Linked DNA regions of Homo sapiens: regions 1 and 2 are each linked to region 3. The links are contacts of gene promoters, found by promoter capture Hi-C in blood cells and fetal thymus (Javierre and others, 2016). All regions are on one chromosome and are shown on one strand. Each heading gives the region's core, a stretch centred on a gene start or on the middle of the fragment in contact. The rest is flanking DNA. Distances are from core to core; before and after follow the strand shown. Region 1 has its middle 2.5 kb from the start of CYFIP2. Region 2 overlaps CYFIP2 (cytoplasmic FMR1 interacting protein 2). Region 3 holds the start of ADAM19 (ADAM metallopeptidase domain 19).

What was found. The method cuts DNA at HindIII sites, captures the fragments that hold promoters and counts their contacts. A CHiCAGO score of 5 or more calls a contact.
Region 1: a contact is called between a fragment that was not itself captured here and the fragment with the promoter of ADAM19 in region 3, in 1 of 17 cell types (neutrophils). The highest score is 5.9, in neutrophils.
Region 2: a fragment that was not itself captured here is called in contact with the fragment with the promoter of ADAM19 in region 3 in 2 of 17 cell types (neutrophils and activated CD4 T cells); the score reaches 6.8 in neutrophils.

What each region holds. Positions count from the first base shown.
Region 1 is chr5:157,261,662-157,265,535 of GRCh38, reverse strand. No RefSeq gene overlaps it. Among named protein-coding and RNA genes, the nearest start is that of CYFIP2, 2.5 kb to the left of the region's middle. The HindIII fragment of the contact is 642 bases long and covers 1,824-2,465 here.
Region 2 is chr5:157,316,494-157,320,411 of GRCh38, reverse strand. CYFIP2 (cytoplasmic FMR1 interacting protein 2) reads right to left here. Exons shown (of 31, transcript NM_001037333.3): 14 at 484-650. Among named protein-coding and RNA genes, the nearest start is that of FNDC9, 27 kb to the left of the region's middle. The HindIII fragment of the contact is 3,732 bases long and covers 1-3,551 here.
Region 3 is chr5:157,573,789-157,577,873 of GRCh38, reverse strand. It overlaps ADAM19 (ADAM metallopeptidase domain 19), which reads left to right and starts at 2,099. Exons shown (of 23, transcript NM_033274.5): 1 at 2,099-2,271. The coding sequence starts at 2,178. It overlaps LOC124901121 (a long non-coding RNA gene), which reads right to left and starts at 2,895. Exons shown (of 2, transcript XR_007059018.1): 1 at 2,504-2,895; 2 at 1,264-1,594. RefSeq lists enhancers at 1-84, 85-700, 2,558-2,637, 2,874-3,403 and a silencer at 1,948-2,387. The HindIII fragment of the contact is 8,826 bases long and covers 622-4,085 here.

The DNA of each region.
Region 1 (3,874 bases), core at 895-3,394, 310 kb after region 3:
TTCCACCAATTGAGCTTGGTCGCTGATAGGGCTCCTTCGCTTAAGAATAAGTTCTTCCGCTCCCTTCCAGTTCCCTGGAGAAGAGTCCCTGAAGCTGCCACCTCTTTTACAGGGGCCTGCCTCAACTTCATTCTGGAAGAATTGCCTAACGGACAAATAGGTGGCAGGAAGCACTGAGAGGACAGGTACCTTTCTCTTCAAGGCTTATCTGCCGTGTCGGGCTCTTTAAAGAAGCAATTATCTGCCCAGCGGTGGCTCACACCTGTAATACCAAAACTTTGGGAGGCCGAGGAGAGAGGATTGCTTGAGCTCAGGAATTGGAGACCATCCTGGGCAACTCAACGAAACTTCATCTCTACTAAAAATTAAAAAAAAAAAAAAATAGATGGGTGTGGTGGCATCCACCTTTTGTCCCAGCTACTCAGGAGGCTGAGGTGGGAGGATTGCTTGAGCCTGGGAGATTGAGGCTACAGTGAGCTATGATCCTGCCGCCGCACTCCAGACTGGGTGACAGAGTGAGACTCTGTCTCAAAAAAAAAAAAAAAAGAATGAAAGAGAGAGACGGGGGGAGAGAGAGAGAGAGAAAGGAAGAAAGAAAAAGAAAGAGAGAGAAAGAAGAGAAGGAAAGAAAGAAGAGAAAGAAAGAGAGAAAAGAAAAAGAGAAAGAAACAATTCTCATTGAAATCCAGCCTGGTAGGCCTTCAGACCAGGCTGAAGTCAGGCTGCACCAAATTCTAACCTTGAGACACCTGAGCAGGTCACTTCACCACTCTGCTCCACAGAGGTCACCGTATCTGCAACACAGGGAATAACAGTTGCCCTTTATACCTTACAGGGTAAATAATTTGAAAACATTTGAGACATTGTGGAGTGTATGTAGATATAAGGAGTGGTTTCCTAAGGCCCACAAATTTATACTTAATCACTCAGCTGTTCCTAATAAGGGCAATTTGTGGAGGAGCCCCGTTATTCAAGCTCCAGCAAAGGACTTGTGGAAGCCTTTGCTTTCCTTTACTGATCTCACCTTATTTCCCACGTGCTCAGAATCCATAATTCCTTGTGGTTTGATCTTAAATCGCTAATTCCAATTCAAATTGCTATTTCGGAAAAAAATGACTTATATATATATATATATACACACACATACATTTCTTCCCTGGTTCAGTGTGAAAAGCTGTGGGGGTGTTTGTGGAGGATGGGTTTAAAAACAGAACTGAGGTTTCCTTTTTAAAAAATGTTTCATTTTCCACCGTGATCCTTGGGATTTCAAGTTCAGTGATTACAAATACTTAACAATGAGAATCCCAATAAATCAGATTTTCATTCTAAGGGGCATATTATTGCAGATGGTATAGTTTTTTGGAAGACGTATTTCTCCCTGTTGTTCCTTCCCTGTCTTTTCACCTTCAGGAACAAGTTGCCTAAAAACAGAAAAGACTATTACATATATATTTGGTTAGATCTTAGGCAAAAATAACTCCGACCTCTGAGTTCTATTTGTGTATAAAGGAGAGCAGTATGGTCTTTTGAAGCCACTGTGTTGGAAATCCAGAGGCTTGCCTTTTGGTTCTAGTTTTGCAACTAACAGAAGAATGATCTTAGGCAAGGAGCCTCACCCCTGTTTCCTCACCTGTTAAGTGAAGTAAGTTGGATGCTCTCCAACTTCCCTCTGAATGTGGAAAATTACATGAGTTAAAGGGCACGTCCCTCCCAGGCTTAAGGCACTTCCCTAGCTCCCCACTGCCCCCCGATGAAGCCCAAACTCTCCAGTGGCCGGAGAGGGTCTTTAAGAGCTGGCAGCTATCTCTCCATGTGAACAAGCTTGCTGTGCTTCAGCTAAAAGGAACAGCTTTTAGTTCCTCAAACTTGCTGTGTTCTCTGTTGTGCTCGACATTCGTACATGCAAGGCTTCTTCAATGGCAGTTTCTGTCCCCCCATTCCCTCCCTCCACATTCCACACTTTTTCCCAGTTTACCTGATGAAGTTCTGTTCATCTTCCTGGTATTCCTCTAGATGTCGCTTCCTCCAAGATTCCTACATGTCTGGGTTAGCTTGAGATTAGTTGTCTATGTGTCCTTAGCTGCCTGGGCTCCCTCTATCACCCCACGTATTAGTCTGCATTATAATTGTCAACACACTTCCCTGTATTCCACCATGAGACCATAAAATCTAAGGGAGCAGGGATATGTCTGTCTTGCTTTCCCATTGCATCCTTGGAGCCTGGTACTTAACAGGAGTTCAGTAAAAATGGATGGAATGAACACCCATAGGTGACATTTTTAAACTTTGCCACTGAAATGTATAGCTGTCTGTCTACTGCCTTCAGATTTCCTTCACATCCAACCCCAAGCTGTGCATCAGCAATGAAATGGTAGAGGATATCAATAAGAATTGCTTTGGTACTTGCAAAGCTGTGGCCCACATGTTGTCCATGTGGCAACATTACCTTGTGTTTTAGAAAAGCTTCAAGTTATAATCCCAGCACTTTGGGAGGCCGAGGCAGGTGGATTGCCTGAGGTCAGGAGTTCGAGACCAGCCTGGCCAACATAGTGAAACCCAGTTTCTACTAAAAATACAAAAAATTAGCTGGGCATGGTGGCGAGCGCCTGTAATCCCAGCTACTCAGGAGGGTGAGGCAGAATTGCTTGAACCCGGGAGGTGGAAGTTGTAGTGAGCCGAGATCACACTGTTGCACTCCAGCCTGGGCAACAAGAGCAAAACTCTGTCTCAAAAAAAAAAAAAATATATATATATATATGTATTTTAAAACTATCAGGAGACCCTGCTTTATAGACACCAGTAATGAAGTATCTGGAATGGGCATGAAGGGAAAACATAAATAATGATAATAATAATAATGGCTAACATTTACCAAGTACATTACCTCATTTAATTTTTCGTAATTTTTCTATAAGGAAAATACAATCATTTTTCCCATTTTTATAATTGAGGCAATTAAGGTTTAATAATTTGCCCAAGGTAGTGAAGTCAAACCCATGCTTTTTACCACAATCTCATACAGCCTCACTTTCCCTCTTCCAAGCTAAGTCCATTTGTTTACTAATATGCTACCTTATTCTAAAAACATATTAAATGTAAGTTACAGGAATACATTATGTTAAAAAATTAAAAATCAGCAAGAAATTTTTTAAAAAGAAGGAAAAGAGTAGAGAGATGAGATGGAGAATCGAATGTACATAAGACCAAAATGTAAACAAAACAAAAATCAATCACAGCTCTACCTGCTATGAGCTTGCTAACACATTTGGTTCTAAGTATTTATGTGGGTGGCAGGAAAAGATAAACTTGATGGTCAGTTACAGAATTTACATTGGCCATTCTGTAGATAGAACCTGACCACTTGCTCAAAATTGCCTCATTTTATAGGCAAGAGAATTGCTTGAGCCCAGGAGGTGGAGGTTGCAGTGAGCAAAGATGGTGCGGCTGCATTCCAGCCTGGGCAACAGAGCAAAACACTGTATCAAAACAAAGCAAAACAAAACAAAACAAAAAAGTATATCCCTTAGATTCTTGTGAAGGTTATATGAAATGATAATGTAACACACTAAGCAGAGTCTGGTACATAATAAATGCTCAAAAATGGGATTATTATTATGATTTTCTTTTTGAGACAGAGTCTCACTCTGTCGCCCAGGCTGGAGTGCAGTGGCATGATCTTGGCTCACTGCAACCTCCGCCTCCCAGGTTCAAGTGATTCTCCTGCCTCAGCCTCCCGAGTAGCTGGGATTATGGGCATGTGCCCCTACACCTGGCTAATTTTTGTATTTTTAGTAAAGATGTAGTTTCACCATGTTAGCCAGGCTGGTCTCGAACTCCTGATCTCAGGTGATCCTCCCGTCTCGGCCTCCCAAAG
Region 2 (3,918 bases), core at 436-2,935, 260 kb after region 3:
AACTCAGCTCTGAGCCCATCGAGTGAGACAGAACTTGTGTGAGGCAAGAGGTCTGTATTTCCTTTCTGGTTATAGGGGAGTCTCACCGGTCTTATGAAATCTGTGTGTGCTTAGTTTTCATAATAGCTTAGATGTGCTGCATACTTACTCCATGCTGCATGTGCTTAGGTCTATATATGGACCATCTCATTTCATCATCCCAACAGGCAGCAGGTAGCATTATAATCCCCATTTTACAAATGAGGAAAACTGAGGTTTGGAGAAGGTCAGCAACCTGACCAAGTTCACACAGCTAGATAGCAGTGGATATGGACTTCTAGAGATGAAGGCTTAATTCATCCCAAATGCCCAATCTCCTAAAGAGCCCTCTGGAGCTTGCTGGAAGGACCCATGTGTGTTCAGTGGCTGAGCCAGGACATCCTCTCTGATGGGTACCTGGCATGCTTATGTCTGATATGCTCCTGAAGGCATCTGAAAACCCACCTGATGAGGACATTCTTCTTCTTCCGTACCGCCTGCCGCAGGGGCTCACGCAGCGTCACCTGGGCGAAGTCCTGCAATGCCGCGTAGATGGTGTTCCTGATGGCCTGGTTGAAGACGCTCTCCATCCTGCCCATGAGCACCTGCAGGCCTTTGATCATGGCGATCACCTGGGCAGGAAGAGGCCAAGGGTCATGTTCACCATGTCCAGCACACCAGCTGTCTACTACCCATCACCGCCCTGCCAGGGGAGGCGGGGAGTGAGATGTCCAGAGGCATGAGGCCAGTGCTACTCAAAGTGCCAGCGCATGGCTAGGTAAGAGATGTGTGCCAGAATGTACGTATATCAGCACTTGGCTTCATTCATTGAGAAAGTCTTGCTACAAAACACAAATGTCAGCTCAACTAACAGCATTCTTCGCAATGCAACTGATTTTCATCCTCGCATGAGCTCCCAATTTTGTTGTTCACTGCTGACAAATAGCAGCTGGCCCATGGGCCACAATTTGAGCATTTTGAGAAGTGCCTTGGCTTTTGAAGGCCTCTCCATAGACCAGGCACTCACAGACAACATCAAATAGAACTTTTTTAACATAAAATTTTCTAAAGAATTTTTACAACCTTTGTTTTTGAAACCGTTTGGCCAGTTGCTGCTTGAGTTTATAAAATCAAAACTTCTCCTGCAGAAGTCATGGGGGAGAATGCCTCTACTCCCCTATTTCCCTTCTCCTTACCCTAACTCACTTATCTGTTTGGAGAGATGGGGATTCAGGCACGTGTGATGAGAGGAGCCTGGCCTGACCTTGGCTCGCTCTTTTGGGACCTGCCTGCCTGCAAGTATGTGGCCTCCCTTCTAGGTTTCTGGCTGCTTCTTGCAGTAACCATCCCCTGCCCATCCCGAGGAAGGGAGGCGTGTATCTATGCAGCTGCTTTGCCTATTACCTAGTGGCAAGTTTAATGAGATGTAGGAGGCATAGGAACACTGGTGTGGCCTTGGGTGAAAACCACATTCTCTAGTCTAGCTTTACCAGCAGTAAGTCTGAGCCTTTGACTCCATTGGCCTCTAATATTAATTTCTCAATTGATTCAGAATTCAGAGGGAAAGGCATGTGGCAGATCGTCCACCTCACAACTGCCACACAGATCACACCCATAATGGCATGTTCCACCTTCTACACCAGACTGGAAATACACAGGACAGGGCCCAGCTATGCTGTGCACGCCCAACTGCCAGTGTCTGGGTCCATGGTGGGCAGACACATTTTCTGTTGAAAAGGAACAAATAAATGAATGAATGAGCTCAGACCCTAAGGCTGTTTTTTTCTCTAAAACTTAAAGGAAGAAAAAGAACATTTTTAGATAGAACTGGTATGAAAACAACTCAGGAGGTGATGGTTTTCATTGGCACCAACAGTACAACAATTTTGTTGGTGATGAGCTTTAGTGCAGAGAAATAATGGGAGAGAAGCATTAGAGGACTGTTAGATCATAACAGAATCTGGGCCCCTGGCTACAGATATAACTAGGAGACATTAGGAAAAAGGAAGGAGTAAATAATGAAGATGTCTCAGAATGGCTCCAAATACAGAGGAGTGGGCAGGCCTGTTGGATCTAAAGGAAAAATCTTTACAACTCTAGACAAGGCAAAGATTTCTTAGCTGAAACCCCCAAATCACTAACCACCAAATAACTGACAAATTGGACTTCATCAAAATTAAAAACAGCTGCTCTTCAAAAGGCACCCTTAAAAAATGAAAAGGCAAAGTCACTGATGAGAAAAAATATTTGCGACATATATTTGACTGAAGACTTGTGATCTAAAATATGGAATGAATTCTCACAATTCCATAATAGGAAGACAGAAACCCGATTTTTTAAAAATGGGCAAAAGATCTCAATACTTCACAGAGGAAGATATATGAATGGGATACAGGACAGGACAGAGGTAAAGGGAATTCCCAAGATAATAAATAATGAGGAGAATCTTGGATCAGTGGCGGGGCTGGTCTAGAGACAAACCCATGCAGATTGGAAAGAAGAGAGCTTGTGGAGGAATGCCTCCAAGAAAAAAAGAATAATACCAAAACTCATCAAATGATGACTGTGATGGACTATTTTGTAAGGAGTTTTACATTTTGTTGGTAGGTTTGGGGTTGCCTTTTTGATAGACTCATAGAAAACAAAATAAAAAATACAGTATTGCTAATTCTATGAAGAACAAAAAGTTGTGCAAGAAAATAAATGGATTCACATTAGAGCGTGTGGCTCAGTGATGGACAACAGTTACTTGGTTATAATAATAATAAGGTAACCATTGATTTTTACCAAAAAGTGTAAAATTACCACGATGGGAAGATGGGGGAAGGAAACCAGGTGTGTTGCAGGGATGGGAGGTAGGAAGGAGAGAGCTATATCCTCATTTCCCAAAGTAGAAAATCAATAGAAAATGTCATAAACTGAAAAACCAAGAAATAGTCTCATAAGCCTGTTAGAACTAGGGAGATAAATACCACAAGGAATCGCTTAACAAGTTGAATGGTGTTTCCTATTTGGGGATTCAGAATGGAATAACATGGTACAGGCAGGTTACTACTTTTGCTTTGTTTTATTATTAAAGGCCACATTGAACTACTTTTCTTTTTAATTTTTTTAAACATGTTTTATTAATGAGATAAAAATGATAAAACCTCCCAATGTATAGCAAAGTAATGACTAGATGGAAATAGAGTGACATGTTCTTGGTGGTTGTGCTTGGATGACGATATAAGGTTGTGGGAAGGTGAAGGTAGAAGTGGGTTGCGGGAGCATCTTCTGAATCACTTACAGTGCATACGCATCCCTTTTATTAAGGAAATAAGTGCATAAATAGTTTTATAAAGTTGCATTTACCCTCTGACTGTCTCACTTTAAATAGGCTTGAGGATGACTTTGTCCTCTGGTGATGACTGCAAAACTTTCTTCCAGGTTGCCCATTAGTAATAGAAGTGCCAAGGGGTCTGGAGCCACTCAGGACAATGTCAAGTGTGATTATGAAATTATGCCACCGAGCCTCAGTCCTTTAAAGTGAAGCTTGGAGAGATGACGACTCTAATCTCTTACATTTGTATGGCCCTTTAAGTTTTCAGAGCTCATCTACATCCATTATCTTACTTGACAATTATTGTTTGATTCTCCACAATAACCCTGGGATGGGGCAGGGGAAGGTTGATTAGCTCCATTTTACAGATAAGGAATCTGAGGCTCTGAGAGCTGAAGTGACCAGAGGGCCCGGGGCTGGGATCCAGGTCTCTGATTTCTAGATTCGTCTCTTGTAGGTGTCAAATGGTCCTCAAAGAAATAGCTGTCACTCACAACCTAGTGTAAAGGAGTTTTCCTCCCAAATAGAAACATCATTTTGTAATCAAACAAAACACAATACAAAAGGTTATAAATCAGACA
Region 3 (4,085 bases), core at 850-3,349:
GCCACCACGCCTGGCTAATTTTTTTTGTATTTTTAGTAGAGACAGGGTTTCGCCACATTGGTCAGACTGGTCTCGAATTCCTGACCTCAGGTGATCTGCCCGCCTTGGCCTCCCAAAGTGCTGGGATTACAGGCCTAAGCCACAATGCCAGGCCACCATCCTATTCTTAAATAAGATAGCTACAAAGAGAAACAGCTACATACCTTCCTCACAATTTTCACACAAGGAAATTCCTTGTGGACAAAGGACAGACAGAATTTAAAGCCATCCCTCTGAGGCTCACCGGAAACAAATGCATATCTGATTGCTTCTTCTGCCCTATTGTTTATGTAAAAATGTAGATTCACTGAGCTAGACTAAATTGTGTATTCAGTGGAAGGTTGATCAAGGACTCAAAAGAATGTAACCTCTTCTGTTTCTTATCTACTTATAACCTGGAAGCACCACCCTTTCTGCAGCTTGGAGTTGTCTTGCCTTACCGGACCGGAAGCAATGTACATCCTACACATATTGATTGATGTCTCATGTCTCCCCAAAATATATAAAAGGAGGCTACACCCCCACCACCCTGGGCACATGTTGGGACCTCCTGAGGCTGTGTCATGAGCACGTTCTTAAGCTTGGCAAAATTAACCTTCTAAATTGACTGAGACCTATCTCAGATATTTCGGGTTCACAGAAAGATACGAATTTTACAGCAGCTGGAGACTAACGGAGTCCCAAACGACATTAATGGCCAGAACCACTTATTTGATTTCCCTCATGGGTGCCCATGAGTAGGGTTTGATAGACCTACCTACCCATCATCTTCAGGAGTGCCTCGCCCTCTCCAACACTTAGCACTTCTCTAGTCAACCTGGGTTTGACTAAAGAGGCTCAGAAAAAGGAACAGATGGACGAGGTTTGAGGCTGGGATTCTACAACGAGGCTTTGCTAAAACTTGCTGAGGGATCTTAGGCAAGTCATTTCTCTCTCATTATCAGTTTCTCCACCTGGAAAATAAGGTGTGTTGCATCAGGCTCTGGAGTTATACGGATGTGGGTTTGAATCTAGGCACTGACATTAGCTGTGTAATCTTGGGCAAGTGGTTTAGCCTCTCAGGTTTGATTTCCTCATTTCTAAAACAGGGATAGTACTAGTACCTACCCCATGGGATTACTGGGCTAATGAAAAGAGATAATGTATGCAGAGTCCCTGGCTCATAAAAGTTATTTTCTCCGATTAATTAAATAAGTGAATATGTGTAAAGTGCTGAAGACAGCGTTTGACACTTAGCGTTTTATCAGTCTTAGCTATCATGATTTTCTTATTCTAGTACATAGAAAGTCCTCAATAAGTAACAGTAGTTATTATTATTTTTGGTCACATGTCCCTGTGTTTCCCTCCAAAACCCTAACCATCCCCAATTCTGGTTTTCTCCCCGCATGCAGCCCAAGGGTTTTCACGTCCCAGTGCGATTGTCTGGGCTGTTTCCTCCGCCTGATGTTCCATTTCTCCTCCTCCCGATCTCAGATGGCTTCTCCTCTGGGATTCCTCTGGTCTTCATCACTCCCTCCTCCCAGGCAGAAGGAATGGCTCCTGGATTTGTGTCCTGCTTAAAAAAAAAAAAAAAAAAAAAAAAAAAAAAAAAAAAAGAAGTCCATATAGCACTTAGTTCTTTGTGCCTGGCGGTTGGGTTAACTCTTTCTGAGCCTGTCTCCGAGAGTGGCGGCCCCCGGGGGACGGCGCTGGGTGAATCACCTCTGAGTGTCACCCAAGGCGTCTGGCACAGTGCGGGACAGTAAACGGGCCGCTGTGCGGAGAGGGGTCCAGTTTAACTCCTAGAAGCCCGAGTCCCCGACCCTCTACAGGCCGCGTCCACCACAAATCCCTCCTCCTGGGGGGCTCGGATTCTCCCTTCCCCGCGGTCTCCCTCACCTGAGCCAGCCCCGCTCCCCCGAGTCTCGCCAGCTCCTCCCCGGCCCCTCCCTCCAGCCCCCTCCGGGCTGGAGCCTCCCCTCCTCCATCCCCTGGCGGAGGCCCGCGGGGCTGGAGGCGGAGCGTCTCGGCAGAGGGCTGGGAGCCGGGTGGGGAGGCGCGGGGCGAGCCGGGGGGTTCCAGACGCGCCTCCACCGCCGGGCAGTGGGCAGGTATGGCTGAGGGCGTGTGAGCGCCGAGCGCTAAGGGCCGCCGCCACCATGCCAGGGGGCGCAGGCGCCGCCCGGCTCTGCTTGCTGGCGTTTGCCCTGCAGCCCCTCCGGCCGCGGGCGGCGCGGGAGCCTGGATGGACAAGTAAGTGGCCAGGCGCGGGGGGATGGAGGCTGGGTGGCCCGGAGACCTGGGAGTAGCCTTGCGGGTCCGGAGCGCTGGGACCGCGACCCCTGCGCCTCCCGCAACTCCGCGGGGCCTGCGCCCCCGCCGTCCCCAGCCTGGGAGCCCGGGCTTTGTTCCCACGTTCTGCGCCCTGGGAGGTGGCAGAGGTCGGGGAAACCCGGCGCAGCCAGAAAACAGCCGGTCCGCTCACTGGCTAGCCTTCCCTTCTCGCCTTCTCCTTCCTCTGTTTTTCTGCTTTTGGCTTCTCTTTCCGCCGTTCTCGGGGCTTATCCTCCTCCGTTTTCTCACGGTCCCTCGTGTCCGCTCCGCCTCTCTCTCTGTCTTTCTCTCTACCGCCCGCTGCACTCGCCAACGCCGAGCATCCCGAGCGCCCTGCCCGTGTGGCCTGGGAGCGGCTTCCTGGGACCAGGCTCGGTGCCTGCCACACTGGTGGGGTAGGACATAAAATGCCCGCGGCAGACTGTGGTAGCCTTGGCTAGGGGATGGCTCGCTGGGTATCTGCAGCCACACACTTCGGATCCCCGAGCTGGCAGGAGCCCTACTGAAGGCCAAGTCAAACGCACCCATTTCACAGATGGGGAAACCGAGGCCCACAAAAGGGAAAGGACTTGCCCAAGGCCACGCCACGGGTTGAGGTCCGCGGTGGCACTGGAAACCAGGGCTCTCTTTCCACGCCAACCCGACGGCCGCCTTCTTTGGTCCTCAGTTTCCCCTTCTGTGAAGCGAAGGGGTCTGACTCGATGTTTCCAGCTAAGATGCCGGGTGATGTCCGTGTTTCTCAGGACTAGTTTCCCAGACACCAATCCCCTCCCCGGCTCCATCCCTCGGGGGCTATAAGCAGATTTCGCGGAAGGCTTGGTCCCGGGGGGCGGTGCCCGGGTTCTCTCATTATGACCGGAGAAGGCTTAGCCCTGGCTCCACCGCTGCAGACGGGCTGGGCTGACTCCAGACTGCTGCTTGGGGGACCAACAGTCAGCGTTTTCAAATAGAGCGAGCACCGGCGGAGCGAGGGTGGGCTGGCTGGACCCCCGGGCCGCCTCAAACCCAGAGGCTGAGAGCTCTTCCGACAGTTCGGAACTTCCAGGGGCCGAGGTCGGGCGGTCCTCCCAAAGGGCTCAAAGGAACCGCCCTTTGAGCTGTTGTTCCGAAGGGGAAACTGAGGCACAGAGGAGGTTCTAGGGTAGCACCAGGCCTGTGTCAGTGCTTAGTGCAGGAGAAAAGCATGAAGAAAGACAAGGAAAGCTAGTTACTGCTCCTAGCACAGGCGCCTTCTCTGAGTTTTGAGTCCTTGGAGAACACTTGCTGTAGAATATCTGGGAAATAACGAAAAGTGTAAAAGAAAATGATCTGCAACCCCCAAATCCACAGTTGCTGTTGATATTTTGTTTTTTTTCCCCTCCACATTCTTTGTGTGTTCCTATGGATATATATTGATAAAATTGGAACCATACCCATAAGTACAGTTTCGTGTCTTGCGTTTTTCACTTCACACCATGAGCGTTTTCCACATCATCAAATTCTCTGTAAAACATGATTTTAATGACTCTATACAAAGTTTTCAAAAGTTAAAAACACGACTCATACAAATGTGGCCAAGATTTATTCAACTCATTAATGAGGTAGCAAACAGGAGAGTAAAGCTGATTCAGGGAGCATTAGAAAGGGGTGATACAAGCATTGGAGAAAGAATGTTGAAATCATGTGGCCCAGGGCAGATGCAGAAATGGTGGATGCCCCATGAAGCAAACCATAATTCTTGGTTATCTTTCTTT